Regions from separate parts of the Homo sapiens genome. Here region 2 is linked to region 1. The links are contacts of gene promoters, found by promoter capture Hi-C in blood cells and fetal thymus (Javierre and others, 2016). All regions are on one chromosome and are shown on one strand. The core of a region is centred on a gene start or on the middle of the fragment in contact, and the rest is flanking DNA. Distances in the headings are between cores, read along the strand shown.

What was found. The method cuts DNA at HindIII sites, captures the fragments that hold promoters and counts their contacts. A CHiCAGO score of 5 or more calls a contact.
Region 2: a fragment that was not itself captured here is called in contact with the fragment with the promoter of ZNF234 in region 1 in 8 of 17 cell types (erythroblasts, total CD8 T cells, M2 macrophages and 5 more); the score reaches 7.4 in erythroblasts.

What each region holds. Positions count from the first base shown.
Region 1 is chr19:44,137,479-44,144,074 of GRCh38, reverse strand. ZNF234 (zinc finger protein 234) reads right to left here and starts at 2,521. Exons shown (of 6, transcript NM_006630.3): 1 at 2,342-2,521; 2 at 1,708-1,761. RefSeq lists enhancers at 2,034-2,083, 1,749-2,339, 2,094-2,493. The HindIII fragment of the contact is 9,485 bases long and covers 1-5,225 here.
Region 2 is chr19:43,879,376-43,885,971 of GRCh38, reverse strand. It overlaps ZNF404 (zinc finger protein 404), which reads left to right and starts at 2,008. Exons shown (of 3, transcript NM_001033719.3): 1 at 2,008-2,016; 2 at 5,836-5,962. The coding sequence starts at 2,008. The HindIII fragment of the contact is 320 bases long and covers 3,545-3,864 here.

The DNA.
Region 1 (6,596 bases), core at 1,272-3,771:
CTAAAGATTACTGAATTGTACACTTGAAATGGGTGAATTCTGATACATAAAATACACCTCAATAAAGTTGGAAAAAAATTATTAATCTACATGTCATTTAATTTAACAAGACTGCGTTCTGAGTCCATATTGATAGAATATTTACTTTTGAATGAATGAATAAGCAAACAGGGGAACAGGGGATGCTGGTCTTTACAGTATGTTGCCCACTAACAAGTATATCTACTCATAAAAATTAATTTTATTTTATTTTAATTTATTTGAGACAGAGTTTTGCTCTTGTTGCCCAGGCTGGAGAGCAGTGGTGCAATCTTGGCTCACTGCAACCTTCTCCTCCTGGGTTCAAGCGATTCTCATGCCTCAGCCACCAGAGTAGCTGGGATTACAGGCGCGCACTACCACATGTGGCTAATTTTTGTATCTTTAGTAGAGACGGGTTTTCTTTTTTTTTTTTTTTTCTTTTTCTGAGACAGAGTCTTGCGCTGTTGCCCAGGCTGGGGTGCAATGGCGCAATCTCGGCTCACTGCAAGCTCCGCCTCCCGGGTTAACACCATTCTCTTGCCTCAGCCTCCCAAGTAGCTGGGACTACAGGTGCCCGCCAACACGCCCGGCTAATTTTTTGTATTTTTAGTAGAGACGGGGTTTCACCATGTTAGCCAGGATGGTCTTGATCTCCTGACCTCGTGATCCGCCCGCCTCGGCCTCCCAAAGTGCTGGGATTACAGGCGTGAGCCACCGCGCCCGGCCAGAGACGAGTTTTTGTCATGCTGGCCAGGCGGGTCTCAAACTCCTGGCCTCAAGTGATCCACAGGCCTTGGCCTCCCAAAGTGCTGGGATTACTCGGGCTGTGACCCTGAGTGCCTCAGTTCCATAACTCAGGACTCAGGCATGACCCACCATGCCCTGCCCTCTTATACTATTTTTGCAACTTTTCTATAGACTTAAAATTATATAATTACTGTGTTAAAGTTTTTTTAAAAAATCAGGAAATAGTCATAGGAGAAATAATAATGAGAAGAATAAGAATGAGCATGATAGAATATGGCAGGTCACTAGTTTATTATCTCTTTATCTGGAAATTTCCATGGATAAGCAGATAAATAGAAAAACATTGAGAAATGTATAATAAAAATTTTGTAAAACATTTATAAGTAATATAAACATGGAACCACTAAAACAAAATGCATTAGAAATTTAACCATTACTATCTTTACATCCTGATTTCATAGGTAATTACAATTTTTGTATCTTCGTATTTCTGTAATTTCTGAATGCTTCACAGTGATACGGTTCTATTAGAATGTGAAATATTTGTAATAAATGAAACAAAATAGTTGACAGTTTTTAAAAACTGAGAAAACTCCAAGGCAATTAGCCTTGCTCTTAAGGTCCTTTAATCAAGTTCTAACTTACTTTCCCCACCTGAGTACAGCTAGTTCCTCTGCCTCAATGAGAATATATCCAAGAGATGATCAACTCGGGCTCTGACCCTGAATGCCTAGGTTCCAACCCAAGTTTCACCTCTTACTACTTGGATGACCAGTACCTCTCCACAGAGTCACGTTGCGGCTTAAACGTATCTAATTGTATAAATCCCCTAGAATTGAAGTTAGCAATTAAGGCTTAATTATTATAAATGCCCATGCCCTATTACACATGCTACAAAGATACAGTCTCTGTAAAAGAAAAATGACAAGTCACACTCACGTGGAGCTTTGCTTTCAGTAGCCAAGAAGTCAGTCCGCGCAGTCCTTTTTCAGGCTGGGGAAGGAGAAAGCTGTGAAACATCCTGACTGGGTCGCTGTCCCTGAGAAAAGTTAAATGCTCCCCTCCCTTCGTGGAAGTGGACGCAACCCTCGCCTGCCTAAAAAGAGGTCAGAAGGCGTCCGGGATCGTCCAGCGTCCTGCAGGGATCAGAGATAAGGGCTGAGGCCCCTGCTGCTGGAGCTCTGACCCCACCGGGGGACCTAACAGGTTTCGTGGGAAAGTAACAAGAAACCACCACTCACCAAGTGACAGGGACTGTTTGTGTTGTGTAACCTATTCCAGTTACCAAAACGATTCTACAAAGATGGTCCTAACGTCCCCATTTTAAAGAACAGCAAGGAGAGGCCCAGGGAGATTAACACGCCAACCTTGCACTGTAAAAAAGTGACTGCGCGCCTGGAGTGCAGGGAGGCGGAGTGGGCGAGCTCAGAGCCCCGGAAACCCTCAAACCAGGCGAGACGCGACCCAACCAAGTCCCAATGCCCCCCGCCTCCCGCCGCGGGACACGAGGGGAGCCCCAGCCCAAGAAGGCTCCGCTGACACAACAAAAGCCGCCGCCCTCGCCCCACCAAACCTCTGCTCTCCCACGAGGCTTCTTTTCCCATAACCGGACCACCAGGTCCCAGCGAGCCCCAATCTTAAGTCCCTGACATTAGGAGGGGCCCGCGAGTCGCGGAACTGGAAGAAACTACCGTGGAATGTGCCGTGACAATCGCCCCCTCTTCCCTGGAGCGGAAGTGCCCGCGACTCCACTGATTGGCGGGACTACATTTCCCAGAATTCCCCGGATCCCCCTGCGTGGGTCAAATGGACCACGACTCCACTGAGCGTTTGGATTACACTCAGAATGCTGAGGGAAAAACGTTCAGAATCTCACCCTTCAGGGAAAAGCGATGGGACTCCGCGGTGCTCCTTGCCTACGATTCCCGCACTGCCCATGGGGAACGAATCCTATATCGCTGAGCGCTTGGTAGGGAATGTGGACTGTGACCCTGAGAGTCGTCCTTCCCTCTGCCTGAGTCCTTGAGCGAAAATATTGAATAGACAGCAATTCCTGAAGTCTAAACGCCTCCCAGGACTACGGAGGATTATTGGAAAGAGAACAAGCGAGGAGATACAATCTTCAAGGACTAAATGGGGAATGACTTTTTAGGGGTCAGTAGATGATTGATGATTGATTACTATAAACTGATAATATGAGGCCAAAACTAAAAGTTGGAAGAGTGAGCAAGTACAATGGTTTGGGAGAGGCAATGAAGAACAAAGAAGGTGCCAGCCCCTACTCCAGACGCTGTGGTACCACTGGTTTGGCAGGAAAAACAATCATCATTTGAGAGGGCCAGTGGGGAAGCCCTGTCCTCATGGAAAAGCTATCTTCTTTCGTTTACACTTTTCATGGTATTATGTCTACTGAAGAGGTAAAAACACCAAATTTCAGAGAAGCTCTTAAATTGCCCAATACTTCAAAGCAAGTATAACTGGTGAAGCGCTTGGCATTGATGTCAGACACCCAATGCCTATGATTTATTTAATGCAGTAGCATTAAGGAGGATCCTATACGTGAAGGAACATATTTTATTTTCTTCCTTTATATTTTTTGGTTAAAATATCGTCATTATAGTTAGCAATTTGGAATCTGGCTTACATTGGTTGATACAAATAAATAATAGAATAAAGCAAAATCAGAAAAAAACCCATCTAAAATCTTTCTTCAAGATAACCAGGGGCTGGGTGCGGTGGCTCACGCCTGTAATCCCAGCACTTTGGGAAGGCCAAGGCGGGCGGACCATGAGGTCAAGAGTTCGAGACCAGCCAGGAGAACATGGTGAAAACCCATATCTACTAAGAATACAAAAATTAGCCGGGCATGGTGGTGCGTGCCTGTAATTCCAGCTACTCGGGAGACTGAGGTAGGAGAATCGCTTGAACCTGAGAGGCAGAGGTTGCAGTGAGCCGAGATCATGCCACTGCACTCCAGCCTGGGCGACAGAGCAAGACTCTGTCACGGAAAAAAAAAAAAAAAAAAAGATAACCAGATTTTTTTCTCCCCATAAACATACATTGGCCTATTGATATGGTTTAGATCTGTGTCCCCACCCAAATCTCATGTTGAAATGTAATCCCCAGTGTTGGAGTTGGGGCCTGGTGGGAGGCGATTGGATCACCGGGGAGGTTTCTAATGGTTTAGCACCATCCCTCTAGTGCTGTTCTCCTGATAGAGTTCTCATGAGATCTGCTTGTTTAAAATTGTGTAGCATCTCACTCCTCGCTCTTTTCCTCCTACTCTGGCCATGTGAAGTGCTGGCTCCCTAGTCGCCTTGCAGCATGGTTGTAAGTTTCCTGAGGCCTCCCCAGAAGCTGAGCTGATGCTGCCATGTTTCCTTTACAGGCTGCAGGACTCTGTGTGAGCCAATGAAACCTCTTTATAAATTACCCAGACTCACGTATTTCTTTATAGCAATGGGGGAATGGACTAATACACTTATCAATCTATATTTTTGTTTTTTAAAAAATGAAGTCTCACATTCTAGATTCATTTTATAAACTAAAAAAATACCTTTTCACAATTGTGTTTACATAAAAACAAGGTTACTATGCTAACCACACAATGCCACACATCCCCCTCTTTGAAAATTGACTGACTGCTATTTCTATACTAGTTACAGCTGTATTGTTGCTCTAGTCGGCCCTTCCAAATGACAAAATTTATTGAGATGCTCCATCTCGGCCAGGCGCAGTGGCTCACGCTTGTAAACCCAGTACTTTGGGATGCCAAGGCCAGCGGATTACTTGAGGCCAGGAGTTTGAGACCAGCCTGGCCAACATAGTGAAACACTGTCTCCACTAAAAATACAAAAAATCAGCTGGGCGTGGCATGGTGATACATGCCTGTAATCCCAGCTACTCAGGAGGCTGAGGTACAAGAATCACTTGAACCTGGGAGGCCGAGATCACGCCACTGCACTCCAATCTGGGTGACAGAACGAGACACTGTCTCAGAAAAAAAAAAAAAAAGTGGAAGGGAGGGAGGAAGGAAGGGAAATGCACTCCAGCTGAGTGACAGAGCGAGACTCTGTCTCAGAAAAAAAAACAAAAAAAAAAAGGAAGAAAAGAAAGAAATGTAAATCAGTCAATATCTTCTAAAAAATTTAAAATTATTTTTTCCAGGGTTATATTTTTAACATTTTGATCTTCAGCGATTCCAACATTCAAGATTATGTCTTTCTGGATTATGATCAATTTCTGTCCTTAGTGCATGATCTCAGGATATACCAGATACTAGTTTTTATCCATTACTGGTGCTGCTAAACTTGAACAGTTGATTAAGGGGTTTCTCTCCAGAATTCTGCACTCTAAAATTATTTTTCCCCTAAAAAGTTACTACTATCTGGTGAAAAACTGAGATACTCCAACTCATTCTATGTTGATTTTTTGGCATTATGCTCTAAGAAAAAGCTTTCCATCTATATTATTTATTTGTTTATACCAGTGTGGATTTGTGAATTCTTGTTATATTAATGAGTTCACATCTACTACTGTTATTATGTATTTTGATTCTCTGGTTGTCTCAGATTTTGCCAGTAAAATCCTCTTCAAGCAGTCCCCTCTTGCCTTCTGGCTCCTCCTGTTCATCATGATATGAGCTCTTTGTGCACTGGTTTACTTTCTGATACTGTGTGTTCCAAGTTCATTAGGTATTTTTCAAGTTCATTGGGTATTTTCCCTACCCTAGCCATGAGATCAGATATTTCTCCTAGGACTTCTGGTTCCTATTTGTGGAAAATGTAGTTAGAAACAAAGAACTGAGTGCTAGGTATGATCGCTGCTACCTTAGTGTTTTTTATTCTTGACCCTCTCAGCTGACAAAACTAGCAAATATATACTTTTTTTTTTTTGAGACGGAGTTTCCCTCTTGTTGCCCAGGCTGGAGTGCAATGACGTGATCTCGGCTCACTGCAACCTCTGCCTCCCAGGTTCAAGAGATTCTCCTGCCTTAGCCTCCCAAGTAGCTGGGATTATAGGCATGCACCACCACGCCCGAATAATTTTATATTTTTAGTAGAGCCGGGGTTTCACCATGTTGGCCAGGCTGGTCTTGAACTCCTGACCTCAAGTGATCTGCCCACCTCGGCCCAGCCTTTTTGTTTTTTGTTTTTTTGGTAGAGACAGAGTCTCACCATGTTGCTCAGGCTGGTCTCAAACTTCTAGACTTAAGTGATCCTCTCGCCTCAGGCTTTTTTCACTTTTTATACTGCTATTGATGTCTAGTTATTATGATCTAGACTGTAGTTGGAAAATATATTTTTATGGTGTCAAACTTTTACATTTATCAAGACTTGTTTTGTGGCCTAATATATGGTCTGTCTTGAAGAATGTTTCATGTGCAGTTGAGAAAATGTGTATTCTGTTGGGGGGCGGAGAGTTATGTCAATGTCTCTCAGGTTGAATTGGTGTATAATGTTCTTCAAATTATCTGTTTCCTTATTTATCTTTTGTCTGGGTGTCCTATGCATTTGAAAGAAAGGTAGGGAGTCTCTTACTATTATTGGAGAGCTGTATATTTCTCCCTTCAATTCTGTCAGTATTTACATTTTATATTTTGGAACTCTGATATTTGGTGCACATATGTTTATAACTGTTTCATCTTAGTGAAATGAACCTTTTAGCAATATTTAATGTCTCGTTTAACAGTTTTTGACTTAAAATCTAATTTATCTGTTAGTATAGCTACCTGTGCTGTTATTTTTTTTACATGGGATATCTTTTTCCATCATTTGCCTTTCACCTATGCATGTCATTAATTCTAATGTGCAGAGCATATAATTACA
Region 2 (6,596 bases), core at 2,455-4,954, 260 kb after region 1:
TTTTCTCCGGGTATAAAATTCAGAGTTCTCAGTTTTTTTCTTTCAGCACTTTAAAGATATAAATTCCATTCTTTAGGCTACTATAGTTTCTAGTGAGAAGTCAACCATTTTTCTTACTGTTTTCTTATAGCTGACAGCTTTTTTTTTTAAACAATGTGGTTTTAAATTATGTTTTTCAATGTTGTTTTTCAGCAGTTTGACTATGATATCTCTAGGTGTGAATTTCTTCATTTTATTTTGATTAGGTTTGACAACTTTTTTGATTTGTATATCAAGGTATTTCCTGAGATTTGGAATGTTTTTGTTTATTATTTCTTTAAATAATTTTTCTGTCCCATTCTCTCTTATTTTCTTCTAGATGTTCAGTGTCACATTTTCACTGTTTCTTGCATTTTTCTTTTCAATTGTGTTCTCTTTTTTTCTCTCTGCATAAGATTATTGTTAATTTGAGGCTCAGTGCAGTGCCTTATACCTGTAATTCCAGCTACTTGGGAAGCTGAGGTGTGAGGATCACTTGAGCCCAGCAGTTTGAGGCTGCAGTGAGTTATGCTCATACCACTGCACTACAGCCTGGGTGACAGAACCAGACCCCATCTCTAAAATAATAATAATAGACATAGAGGATTTTTTGAAAGAAAGATTATTGTAAATTTGACTTAATGTTGCATAATAAGCTCTTTTTTTGAGACGGAGTCTCACTCTGTCACCCAGGCTGGAGTGCAGTGGCACGATCTCAGCTCACTGCAACCTCCACTTCCCCAGTTCAAGTAATTCTTCTGCCTCAGCCTTCCAAGTAGCTGGGATTACAGGCGTATGCCACCACACCTGGCTAATTTTTGTATTTCCAGTAGTGACGGGATCTCACCATGTTGTCCAAGATGGTTTCAAACTCCTGACCTCAAATGATCCACCCGCCTTGACATCCCAAAGTACTGGGATTACAGGCATGAGCCACCGCAATAAGCTCTTAATTAATTTTGTAATTCTAAAATATTCATGTGATTATCTTTTCAGATCTGATACTCTATTGATTTACTCCATTTTGCAATCCATTTTGCTCATCTTTTCTTTTCTTTAGCATGTTAATCATATTTTCAAGCCCTTGTCTGCTACCTCCCATATCTGGATTCTTTGTGAGTCTGTTTCTGTTGAGATTTTTTTTTCTCCTGCTCATTAGTAACTTTTTCCTGTTTTTTTGTGTTTAACAGTTATCATGTGTTGGCATAATCTATTATATATTATAGAGACTCTGGATTACGTTATCTTCCTTTAATGAGTCTACTTCAGGGTTTTTCACCCTTGACACTATTGACATATTTGGCTAGCTAATTCTTTGTTTTAGGGACTTTCCTGTGCATCACACATTGTTTAGCAGCAAACCTGGTCTCTTTCCACTAGATACCTTAACACCTCTGCCTACATTATGACAACCAAATGTGTCTCCAGACATTGCCAAACGTTCTCTTAAGAACAGATTCACTGCCTGTTCAGAACCAGTGATCTACACAATAGTTTTTAATATCTACCTTATTTTCCATTATGTGAATACACAGTCATTTATTTAATTAACTACCTGTCTATGTCTCTTTAGATTTTTCTCCAGCTTTTTTCATTACAACTAATATGTATCATCACATTCTTTTATACATCTTCGAGCACATTTTATAATTATTTCTTTTGGACAGAGTCTCAGAAATGGCCTTTCGTGGTTAAGTTCTTATGCAGAGATTTGCTTACCTGTATTAATGCCCTTGATTTTCACAAGTCTACAGGACACCATGAGAATGCACTTTGCCCTACAGCCTCACTAATATGTGGTACATCATCAACCTTTTAAATGTGACAACTAAATACCTGTAAAATGACAGTATCTTATTGTTTAGAAACATCTCTTTAGTAAAGTTACGTATCTTTTGGCAGGTGATGCCTTGATTACCTAGCTTTGGCTTCTCTGAACTCTGCTTCTCTGATAGAGGAAACCTGAAGAGAACTAGCATTTCTGAAACCATGGCCCGGGTGAGTTGATGTCTCTTTTGCTTTTCTGACTTATTGTGATTTTTTAATTCATGTAATATTTTCATTTTTTTAATCCTGAAACCTCCTATCTCAGAAAGCTCTCTCTTGGAACCTATTTCACATTCCTCCCATTCCAGTGATGGATGATGTCCTCCTCATTTGCCCTCCTTTTTTGAACTGATTTTCACTTATTTTCAAATAATTCATCCATCTTCTGTGTGTTCAGTCTTCTCTCAAGAGCAGTGTTAGAGCAGTGAAAGAGTGAAGTACCTTGAAATAGTTGAGCTGCCGTTGTCAGGTTCATGGTTTCGTGGCATAGGAACAATGGTCCTATTTGACTACAGGAGTGGAAACTTTCTCCACAGCTCCCTTATCTCCACAGTTAGATAAGGGAAAACTTGGTTATGAGTGGTCTCAGTCTGTTTGAGATGAGATCTCAACTTTGAAACGCATTTAGGTTTGAGTGAAGATGGGATTATCACTTACCTAGAGAGAGATTAGGGATCTAGCTAAGGGATCACTGAGAAATGAAAACAATTCCAGGGTCCCATTTTGTAGTGGAAGAGAAATTGACAGTCCTGAGGGAATCAAGGTTGTTCTGGATCATTCTGCATTACTGTGTTCCAACTCAGGAACAGATCTATAAAGAGTTGTAGAAAGGAAAATCAACTAGAATGATATGTGGTAGATGATATTGAACTATGGGGAAGAGGTTGGAATTTGTGTCCAACATACATGCCATATTAGTATAATTCTTTATACAATAATATTATTTTTAATAATAGTGCCTTAATACCTTAAGAAAGATGAATCTAATAAGAGGGTGCTTGTCACTTGATTCTTTTTTTTTTCTTTGAGATGGAGTCTCACTCTGTCACCCAGGATAGAGTACAGTGGCGTTATCTTGGCTCACTGCAACCTCTGCTGCCCAGGTTCAAGCGATTCTCCTGCCTCAGCCTCCCAAGTAGCCAGGATTACAGGCACCTGCCACCATGCCCAGCAAATTTTTGTATGTTTAGTAGAGATGGGGTTTCACCATGTTGGCCAGGCTGGTCTTGAATTCCTAACTTCAAGTGATCTGCCCACCTCAGCCTTTCAAAGTGCTGGGATTACAGTCATGAGCCACAATGCCCAGCCTCTTTTTAATTTTTTTTTTTTTTTTTTAGAGATGGGGTCTTGCTCTCTTGCCCAAGCTGGAGTGCAGTTTTGTTATCAAGGTTTACCGCAGCCTCAAACTCCTGGGCTCAAGTGATCCTCCCACCTCAGCCTCCCAAAGTGCTGAGATTACAGGCATAAGCCACCATACTTGGCCATTTTTTCATTCTTTTAACTGAATTTTGAAGAGCAGAAGTTTTTAATTTTTCAAAGTGATAATACCATTTTACATTCCCACCAACAGTGTATGAGAGTTCCATTTCTGGATGAAATCCAGTTTATCAGCTTTTTCTTTTCTTTACAGATTGTACTTTTTCTTTAGGGATTGTACTGTTGGTGTTGTATCTAAGAAATCTTTGCCTCACCCCAAGCTTATGTAGATTTTTATACTGTGTTTTCTCATAGAAGCTCTATAGTTTTATGTTTTATGTTTATCTCCATGTGCCATTTTAAGTTAATCTTGGCATATGGTACAAGGTATGGATAATTTATTTTGCATATAGATATCCAGTTGTTCCTACACCATTTTTTTAAAAGACGGTCCTTTATCCACTGAATTGCCTTTAGTCACTTGTTTAAAGCCAGTTGTCTAGATACGTGTAGGTCTATTTCTCAACTCTGTTCCATTGACTTATTTGTCTACGTTTATGCAAACACCACATACTCTTTATTATTGTAGTATTACGTTAAGCTTTCCAATTAGTAGGGTTGATCCTCCAACTGTGCTCTTCTTCAATGTTGTCTAGGTTATTCTAGATCCTTTGTGTTTTCATCTGAATTTTAGAATCACCTTGTCTATTTTTACAAAAGCTCTGCTGGGATTTTTTTTTTTTTTTTTTTTTTGAGACAGAGTTTCACTCTTGTTGCCCAGGCTGGAGTGCAATGATGTGATCTTGGCTCACTGCAACCTCCACCTCCCAGGTTCAAGCAATTCTCTTGCCTCAGCCTCCTGAGAAGCTGGGATTACAGGCATGCGCTACCACACCTGGCTAATTTTGTATGTTTTAGTAGAGACAGGGTTTCTCCATGTTGGTCAGGCTGGTCTCGAACTCCCAACCTCAGGTGATCCGCCTGCCTCACCCTCCGAAAGTGCTGGGATTACAGGGGTGAGCCATCGCACCTGGCCTCTGCTGGGATTTTGACTGAGATTTTGTTGAATCTGTGGATCTGTTTGCAAAGGTAAGAGTCATCTGACTGATGAACATATTATAGCTTTCTATTTGTTTAGATCTTTTAAGTTTTTTCTCAGTAATTATTTGTAGTTATGAGAGTATTAGTATTGTCATCTTTTGTTAGATTGATTCCTAAGTATTTTATATTTTTCATTTGATATTCAGTATTTTTAATTTTAATTTCCACCAATTGTTGCTAATTAAAATGCCATTTATGTTTAACATATTGAGCTTGTATCTTCTCAGCTTGCTAACTCACTTGATAGTTTTAATGAATTTTTATTAGATTCTATTAGATTTTCTATATAGACAATCATGTTATCTGTGAATAAAGAGATTTTTACTTCTTTTTCAATCTAGATGCTTTTTATTTCTTCTTCTTGCCTGAGTTGCACTGGCTAGAACCGCTAGTACAATGTTGAATAGAAGTGGTGAGAGTAGATATCCTTGCTATATTCCTGATTTGGGGAGGAAAGCATTCAGCCTTTCACTATCAAATGTGATGTTAGCTATGGGTTTTTTATAGATGTCATTCATTGGGTTAAGGATGTTCCCTTCTTTTCTTGTTTCACCAAGGATATCAGCAGTGGATGTTGGCTTTTGTCAGATGCCTTTTCTGCATCTATTGATATGTTCATACGGTTTTTCTTTTGTAGTTTGTGAATATGGTGCATTACCTTGATTGATTTTTAAATGTGAGACAGGCTTGGATTGAGCCTTGGTCATAATAGAGTTCCCTTTCTTATATACTGTTAGATTTGATGTGCTAAAACTTTGTTTGGAATCGTTGCATCTGTGTCCATGATGGATATTGGTTTGTACTTTTCTTGTTCTCAGTGGAATCCAGTGGGCTTTGCTTAGGTTCCCGCTCCCTGTGCCACAGCCTAGAAATTGTCTCCTTACAGTAAACTAGTGTGACTGTAGGTTTCACCTCATTTGTTACTTGTCTTTCAGGTATCATTGCGCAATGTTTTCTGTCTTGAAAACCATGGTTTAATATATTTTGTTCAGATTTTCAGTTGTTTCATACAAGAAGGTAAATTCAATCCCTGTTATTCCGTGTTGGCTGGAAAAGATTTTATAATACAATTGGGGGAGGGGGTAGTTATCAATTCATGGTTTTTCATATTCCTCGAAGAGAAAAGCTGTAACAACTTGTATTTATTAATATTATATGGCTTAGGTACGTAGAAGGTATTGTGCTTATATATACTATTTAATTTGGAAAGTTTGGTGACTTCATTTATTTTTATATATTTGGATTTTTCTCTAATATTACTAAGAAAATTTTGTGTGCTCCAACAGGATTCCTTAAGATTGTGTGGGCACTCTACTTAAGACATGCTAATTTATTTACTCTTATCTAACCATGTCATCATCTTGTAACTCTAGACTACTTCTTTTTACATATTGCCCCTTTATTGCAATTTAATGTTCCATCTTGAAAAGTCTTCTTTACTTTTACAAATAATACACAGGTTTGTCATTTCAGGTGCCATTGACATTCAGCGATGTTGCCATAGACTTCTCTCAGGAGGAGTGGGAATATTTAAACTCGGATCAGAGGGATTTGTACAGAGATGTGATGTTGGAGAATTATACTAACTTGGTCTCATTGGGTAAGAATATCTGCACAAAATGATGTACAATATGCTCTCTAGAATATCAGCCTTCTCTGTTGTATATTTTATGGTCTATGCCAAGAAACCAGCTACATTTCTGCTCCATATTCTCAAAGTTTGTTAGGTGGAAATGGGCATATTTGAAGTTTGTTAGGTGGAATGGGCACCCCCATTCAGCACCTGAATCTTCACTATTCTTCACTTGCCTTTATGCCTGCCTCTGCCCTGTCCTATAATTACTTCTTTTTCTAAATGACTAGAGGTTTGAATTCTGGTATTTTTCTGCAAAGACACTATCAGCAAAAACAAATTTTAAATTATATGTGTGTTCAGAATGTCTGTAAATACTTTAATTGCTAATCTTCCTACATAAAAAACCATGGTTTTCTCTTTACCACAAAAGAGCCTCCATAATTTTTATAGTAGTAGAATGAATTAAGATTATTCTCTTTTTTACTGTTATTTTTGTAGTTCTAGCAGTTGGCCTGTTGGCTTCCAGTGATCTGATAGATTCCATGCAGAAGGGGCAGTCTTTGTTCAGTTTTTGGAAGATAGGTGACCATTCTCTCCTCCCATCTGGGACTTTAATTACACCTATGTTAGACCTTTTGAGCATATCCCACAACTTTTT